Linked DNA regions of Homo sapiens: region 1 is linked to region 2. Evidence: promoter capture Hi-C in 16 types of primary human blood cells and fetal thymus (Javierre and others, 2016). All regions are on one chromosome and are shown on one strand. Each heading gives the region's core, a stretch centred on a gene start or on the middle of the fragment in contact. The rest is flanking DNA. Distances are from core to core; before and after follow the strand shown.

Region 1 (4,081 bases), core at 576-3,075, 88 kb after region 2:
ATTATCTTCTTGTACTTATTACTATCCAAAGTGACTTTGTTCATTTATTTATTTAATAATTCATTTTCTTTTTCATCCCCCCAATTTCATTAGAATAAAAATGAGGCTTTTTCACTGTGCATCAAAACATGCTTTGCTACATAATAGTCAGAAATATGAGAAGTAAATTAATGATGATCAGATTTGCCTGAAAATCAGTCATCTTTCTTTTTCAAAGGAATTACATCTTTACTGTACTGCTGTACATTTATTTGTTTTCTACCTTCATCTGAATAATGGAGGGCAAGGGGTGGGGTAGGCAGTGTGTCTGCATATGTGTGTGTGCATGTGAGTGTGTGCAAGCATAAAACAAACCTTATCTCCCCGGCTCCACATGGCTTTAGGAGGTGGTTCTCCGCTGATGGGGATCTCAAGACGAAGCTTGTTTCCTGCAATCACTGTCACTGTGTTGTCAGCATCAAGACCATCCAGGATGATCTTAGGAGGATCTAGAATATTAAGCATAGTCTTTGTTATCAGACAGTCATTTCTGTGTAAATATCTGCACTAATGTTTGGCTAGTATGATGGTAGTAACCAATATTTTATCTAATCAAAAAGAATATAAGAGGAGTCAAGATAGTTGGTGCCTGGCACCTTGCAAAACCATTTTATTGTAAGGTGTTGGTATAAGTCACCAATCTTTCTGATTGGTGATTAATACCAATTGATGTATTTTTCCTTAAATGTCACTTAGTTTTGAATATATTATAATTCCATGGTAAGCAAAAGCAAACAAAAAAGAACACAACTATGCAATGAATTATTTTATCTACTCACCAATAACATGAACTTTGGCAGGCAGAGTAACATTGTAGGCATCAGGTGCAAATACATAATCACCTTCATCTTCAGTGAGGGCATTGGCTATCACTAACTTGTGGATCCTAAGGAAACAAGGAAAATGTATTTCTAAGACTCCAAAGATCTAGTTTATATATGACCCAAGCTGAAAAGACACTTGACCTTTATCTGATTAACTTCTTTAGTGCAGGAAAGAGAGGGAGAGAGAGAGAGAAAGAGAGAGAGAGAGAGAGAGGATGAGAAGCCTTAATTATCCTACTTATTGATTCAAATTAAATCTTTATTTTGGACTATATGGAATTATCTCCACAAATAGAATCTGCTTATTGTATATGCAGAGTCTATTATTCTTTTTTTTCATCTCATAGCTTTAAAAAGGCTAAAATAGAACATATCAATAATGCTATACTTTAAGATTCAAGAGATGCCAAGAATAATCTTGATTTTGGCTTTACATCCCAAACCCTAAGAACAATAGCTCTTAACTTTATTGGGGTCACAAACTAGTGAATATCTGATGGACACTATGAATCCTTTCTGTGTAAACAGTATGTATTTTTGTACACATAGAATTTTCTCACAATTTCACAGGAGTTATGGGGCTTCCTAAAGTTCATTTATGATACCCTAAAAGCCCATGAATTCAAAGTTAAACTCTTGCCTTAGATCTTTGCCAGATTCTAGGATATTATGTCCCCTACGCAAATAAAGATTTGTGGGAAGGCATTGTGACACTTATTGGTTAGAGACGGTTAATCCATTTGATCAGGTCCTCAATTAGAATTCAGTATTTTTCCTCTAACTTCATGTTTATTATTTATTTTAGAGACAAGGTCTCTCATTCTGTTTCCCAGGCTGAAATGCAGTGGTGTGATCTCAGCTCACTTCAACCTCCCCCTACTGGGTTCAAGCCATCCTCCCACCTCCCAAGTAGTTGGGATTACAGGTGCATGCCACCACGCCTGGCTAATTTTTGTGTTTTTTGTAGAGATGAGGTTTTGCCATGTAGCCCAGGAGCTCTTGAACTCCTGAGCTCAATTGATCCGTCTGCCTTGGCGTCCCAAAGTGTTGGGATTACAGGCATGAGCCATGGTGCCTGGCCTCTAACTTCATGTTTAAATGGAAAAAGAGTCAATGGATTTTGAATAGACAAAGTACCATAGTGTGAGGTACAGATACAGGATTATGAGTAGGACATGCTATACAACAGAGAAATCACACCTTCTTGCTAGTTGGAAGCGAAGAATCAGGAATAGATGATCTCCCTATGGCTACCCTTCAAATATCCTCACCAAATATGTAATTTAGAAAATGGAGAAAGTAGAAATGGGACCAAACCTCACTTGCGGGTCACCTGGCTCGCTTACCTTCCCTTGTGAACCACCTTTAGACGGTCACTCTCCTGAACAGGTAGGCCATTTTTAGTCCATTTTCCTGGTATGTTTTCAGAGATTTCACACTTCAGGCAGATTTCTTTTCCAAGATTTACAGTCTGATCAGTCAGAGGTGTCAAAATCTTCAGAGGTTTCACTGTAGAAATGATAGACCATCACAAATGCCAAGCCCAAACTCCCAACAGGCCAAGATGGTGGCATTTCACAATGGTATAGTGAGCTCTACTACAATGTTTGTTTTGAAAGTGAGAAGCTGTACCAATGCAATTAATATATTAGAGGATAATTTCACATTTGATTCTGTACAATTTCATTCCTTAGAAAAACTAGGTGAATGCAGAAAATTGCATCCAGCTGAAATGACCCAGCAAGGAATGCACAAAATCTGCAGACTCACACCTCAAACATCTATCAGCTACCTCAGTTCATCCATGTGATATAAGCCACACCCATTTACATCTGAGGTCACAACTACTCATCAGATTTTGAATAATCCTCTTTCTACTGCTTCACAACAGTTCACAAGCCACAACACTTCCAGCATTAATTCTGTAAGCAAATCTCAGGTCTTTTTCAACATTAAGTGCCATATTTATTATATTTATTAACCATTTAGCATGTGTAAAACTGTGCTACTACTTTTTACTGGGTTCTTATATTTTAAAAAATATGTCGCTGACTGATGTGGTTTGGCTGTGCCCTCACCTAAATCTCATCTTGAATTGTAGTTCCTATAATCCTCACATGTCATGGGAGGGACGTGGTGGGAGGTAATTGAATCATGGGGGCGGTTACCCCCCTGCTGCTGTTCTCATGATAGTGACTGAGTTCTCATGAGATCTGACAGTTTTATAAGGGACTTTTGCCATTTTGCTTGGTACTTCTCCTTGCTGCCACCATGTGAAGAAGGACATATTTGCTTTCCCTTCTGCCATGATTGTAAGTTTCCTGAGGTCTCCCCAGCCATGCGGAACTGTGAGTCAACTGAAGCTTTTTCCTTTATAGATTACCCAGTCTTGGGTATGTCTTTATTAGCAGCATGAGAACGGACTAATAAACCAGCAAAATTCTTGAGTGTCATACCCATAATCCCATTTCCCCTACAAACCCTATGGTTTTTACTGCATGACTTTGCATAGCATAATTATTTTTAGAAATGCACATGTTACATCATAGCAGAATGGATTATAATTGCTTTAAATGGATACAAATATCAGATAAGGATCTGTCTATGGCTGAAAGACTTCTTGATGTTAAACTAAAATGGCCACAGATCCATAAAGCATAAGGAATGTATTGGGATTGATCCTGAATAATTCAATGATTATATGAACTGCAACTGGACTAAGCAATAAATGTGGAAGTAAGATTTCTGCTCTTTTTGTGACATCATCTTGAGATATTTGCTGTTTTAATTTTTATGGCAAATTGGGAGAGATTCTGCCATTGCTAACTGACTAGAAGTAGAGGGCATTGAGGGAAGTACATTAATTCTCTCATGCCTCTGAAGCCTACTAGCAAATTAGCTCTTACAATCTTCTCAATTGAGCCCTTTTGGTTTGAATTACTTTCTTCTCATGCCAAATGTAATTGCAGAGTGTTGAATGGTTATTTGATGAATAGCTAGCTAACATTATCAGGATATGACATCGTATCTAAGTATTTATCCCCTATTTTTACGGTCTTGGAATTATAACTCTTCTGGCAGGTGATTTTTATACTTCCTTCCTAATATTGGCGCTCTACTATTAAATTGAGTCGTGGTTCCTTCCTTAAATATCCTGATTGATCTGACATAGACACTTAGCTGGAATGAAATCCATTTTACATACTTAAAAATCATCG
Region 2 (4,206 bases), core at 4-2,503:
AAGAGAGCAAAACCCTGTCTCAAAAAAAAAAAAAAAAAAAAAGTAAAATGTATGATTTCAAATAGAAAAAGGATTGCAGAGCTGTGAGCAAACTAAGGCAGGTACAAAGGTTGAAATATATTTTAAAATTATTTGGGGGAAAATACATATAAGCACAGAAAAAAGGATGAAAGGCAATAATACCCCCAATTTTAAACTGTATATTATTTCTGGGTAGTGGGATTATAGGTGAGTTTCATTTCCTTCATAAATTGTATCTTCAAAAATTGTTTTGCAATTGATAGGTGATTTCCAGTTACACCAAATAATTGTTTTACAATTATACTCCCACCCACTGAATGGGTTCCCTTTGTTACATAGATTCATCATCACTCCGTGTAGTCATATTTTGTAGTTTTGCCATTCTAGTGGACTGTCAGAACACTACATAGACTATGGGACAATTTTTTGTAATGCCAAACGCGAACGAAACTAAGCCGTGTTGTTTAACGACACATTTTCATGTGGTAATAAAACTTAGAAAATAAGGAAGGGTGAATGATTTACATAAATTTAGGATAATTTTCTTATATCCCTGAATGGGGAAGGGTGGGGTCCTGGTGAGGATCGGATGGAAAGGCCTGCCTGAGGAGATTCAGTGAATGTTGGTAAAGCCCTACTTCATAAATTAGGTGGTATGTTCATCATGTTTCATAATTTACATATTATTCCGCAATTTTCTTTTTTTTTTTCTTGACATGGAGTCTCACTCTGTTGCCCAGGCTGGAGTACAATGGCATGGTCTTGCTCACTGCAACCTCTGCCTCCCGGGTTCAAGCGATTCTCCTGCCTCAGCTTCCCAAGTAGCTGGGATTACAGGCGCCCGCCACCACGTCCGGCTAATTTTTGTATTTTTAGTAGAGATGGGTTTCGCCATGTTGGACAGGCTGGTCTGGAACTCCTGACCTCAAGTGATCCGTCTGCCTCGGCCTCCCAAAGTGCTGGGATTACAGGTGTGAGCCACTGCGCCTAGCTGCAATTTTCGATTATAAACATTTAAAACTTAAAAACTGGAAGGCACCAGGCCTCAAGTGTACTCGCAACCCGCTCCGGCGGCCAAAGCACCCTGGGCCAGCTATTTGGGCGCGCAATCGCCCCATGGGGGCGGAGCCTCGCCACCCAGTTCACGCCTGCGCTCTGCGTCCAGCCAATCAGCGACGTGTCCGGATGAGGCGGGACTGGCTTTTCTCCTGTGCGAATCCCAGCTTGCCTCAGAAGCGTCGCGGAGAAGGGGCCACCTCAGGTGAAGCGCGCTTGTGGAGGAGTTGTGGAGGACGCCTGTCGACGACCAGTAACTGGTCCTCGGCCATTGCGGTGTGTTTCAGGTGTGAGCAGGGGAGGCGTCTGTCTATCGCAGGTGTCCAGGCCAGAGGCTGCCCTTGACCAGTGAGGTAAATCTTACCTCCTGGCGTCGCCTGGGGCCTCTGACGAGAAAACGGAGGCCGCGAACCTGAGGACAGGGCCTTGAGCAGGATAGGGCCTAGTGGAAAGCGGGCGGGCTGGGCTGGGGCTGGGCCCCATCGCTACACCCTGGGACCACTTACAGGAGGGACGCGGCGGGGCCGGGCAGGGCCCTACCTCGCTCCGCGCGTCTCCCTCCTGCCCGCTCCACGCCGAGGGCGCCTTTCGTGGTTCCTCGATGTATTTGTTGTCGAAATCTTCTGCCTGTGTTCATTTTCCGAGACCTAAATTGCGGGACGTTTTTATTATTTGTCTTGATTATTATGAGCTTATTTCTGGCATCCTCATGTCGTGTCCCGCCAGCAACTATAATTTCCCCGCGTGACTGAGCGCCCTGCTAGAGTTGCCCAGATTTAGCCAGAATCTGGCAGAGGCGGCCCCAAAATTTGGAACTCCCAGGCCTCAGGGGCCACCTCTCCAGCACTGCGCGCTTGGAGTCGGGGTGGACACTGTCATTCTCTCTCATCGATTGATTGATTGAGACGAAGTCTCACTCTGTCGCCCAGGCTGGAGTGCAGTGGGGCCATCTCAGCTCACTGCAACCTCCGCCTCCCGGGTTGAAGCGATTCTTCTGCCTCAGCCTCCTGAGTAACTGAGATCATAGGCACCCGCCACCGCGCCCGGCTAATTTTGTATTTTTAGTAGAGACGGGGTTTCACCATGTTGGCCAGGCTGGTCTCAAACTCCTGACCTCAGGTGATCCACCCACCTCGGCCTCCCAAAGTGATGGGATTACAGGCATGAGCCACAGCGCCCGGCCATTTCTGTTGTTGTTTTTTTTTTTTGAGACGAAGTTTCACTCTTGTCACCCAGGCTGGAGTGCAGTGGCTGCGATCTTGGCTCACTGTGACCTCTGTCTCCCGGGTTCAAGCGATTCTCCTGCCTCAGCCTCCTGAGCAGCTGGGACTACAGGCACGTGCCACCACGCCCGGTTAATTTTGTTTTTTTTTTTCAGTAGAGACGGGGTTTCATCATGTTGGCCAGGCTGGTCTTGAACTCCTGACCTCAGGTGATCTGCCTGCCTCAACCTTCCAAAGTGCTGGGATTTCAGGCGTGAGCTACCGTGCTTGGCCTATTTATTTTATTATTTTTTAACAAATGTCATTATCTTCTTAACTTTTGGCCCCCCAAATAAATGAGGAAACTGTTAAAATTGTATTCAACAATCCTTGTTCGATATCTCCTTTGATATTTAAACTTTTACCAGTGTATTAAAATGATGTCTTTGCATTCAGAAGGTTAAAGAAATTTGTTTTTTAAAGTCAGGAAGCATCTAAATATGGTGTCCTCCGGAAAAAAGTATTCCAGGAAATCTGGGAAGCCGTCTGTGGAAGATCAGTTTACGAGAGCCTATGACTTTGAGACTGAAGATAAGAAAGATCTGAGTGGATCAGAGGAAGATGTTATTGAAGGTGCAGTACATCTCATGTTGGGCAGTGATGTCCTTCAGTTCATTTGTTTTGAACCCATTGAGACTATCGTACAACTTAGTTTGTAAAGCATTTTCAGGTATGGTCTTCCCTCCCCCGGTATTTGTGGTTACAGAACCTGCTGACACGGATGGCCAGCTGTACTTGTGTTTCTCATTTGATCCTTATATTGCAGTATCGGAGTTACAGAAGCTTATTCGGCAACTCTTGCTTTTGCAGTTATTTCCAAAATATCTGATATATAGTATGTGGCTTACTGTGACATTAACCCAGGGAGACTTGAAAAATTATTCCTATAAAATGGTCCTGAATCCTGATTTAATTTCACCTAACCTGCAGAGAATATTGCATTTTTATGTCTGCTTTGAAACTGTATGTTGGCAAAAAGCCTAAAAATCCCCAAATGAAGATGTTTCATTAAAATTTACCAAAATAACCTATTCAGTTTCAAAAGCTTTTTTTTTTTTTTTTTAATTGTCAATACAGGGAAGACTGCAGTCATTGAGAAACGTAGGAAGAAAAGGTCTTCTGCAGGAGTAGTTGAAGATATGGGGTAACGTGTTCAAAATAATTTTTGTTTCTTAGATAAAGCACTTCAAGAAAAGTTGCTAACAAATAATATATGTAAAATACTTGGCATCTGGTATTTCTTCCAAAACAAGCATGGTATGTTGTGGATCTTCTAAAGTGTTTAAAATGTAATTTCTTTCCAGGGGTGAAGTGCAGAATATGCTGGAAGGAGTTGGAGGTAGGTTTTAGGAGATACTTGTATTTAAAGAAAATTGTTTTAAGCCATATAATTTGTATAATAACAAATGTTAATAATGGACTATAAGACTGTTATTTAATGCCTTGTTCTCACATAGAAGATTCTGCATAAGTATTTGTGATTTAGCATCACAGATTTTCATAGTTAATCTTTTCCATGATGTTAAGAGTGAATGGTATTTTATACATATGTGAATTTAATGGACTATGGAATTTTAGAAGAAAAATGCACAGGAAAAGTCTTTACCCTTCTTTGTATTCACAGACTAAGTGATACACACACACACACACACACACACACACACACATATACATACATACATATATTTGTATATAAGTTTTTCATTTTTTCAGTTTAGTTATTTTCTGACTTCCTATGCTATTTTCTTTAGGGAGGACAGTGTAAATTAAGCCTCTAAAATAACTCTTTTTACATTAATAAACTATGTAGTTGATACTAAAGACAATTTTGCTAGATAGAGTTTTATAATTAGGTTCAAAAATTCTC

The links. The method cuts DNA at HindIII sites, captures the fragments that hold promoters and counts their contacts. A CHiCAGO score of 5 or more calls a contact.
Region 1: a fragment that was not itself captured here is called in contact with the fragment with the promoter of SYCP3 in region 2 in 1 of 17 cell types (total B cells); the score reaches 7.4 in total B cells.

Annotation. Positions count from the first base shown.
Region 1 is chr12:101,649,522-101,653,602 of GRCh38, reverse strand. MYBPC1 (myosin binding protein C1) reads right to left here. Exons shown (of 32, transcript NM_002465.4): 16 at 2,210-2,372; 17 at 819-925; 18 at 355-488. LOC105369937 (a long non-coding RNA gene) reads left to right here and starts at 2,732. Exons shown (of 2, transcript NR_188371.1): 1 at 2,732-2,787. The HindIII fragment of the contact is 2,806 bases long and covers 423-3,228 here.
Region 2 is chr12:101,736,509-101,740,714 of GRCh38, reverse strand. SYCP3 (synaptonemal complex protein 3) reads left to right here and starts at 1,253. Exons shown (of 9, transcript NM_001177949.2): 1 at 1,253-1,364; 2 at 2,763-2,912; 3 at 3,417-3,483; 4 at 3,644-3,678. The coding sequence starts at 2,780. The HindIII fragment of the contact is 5,223 bases long and covers 1-3,124 here.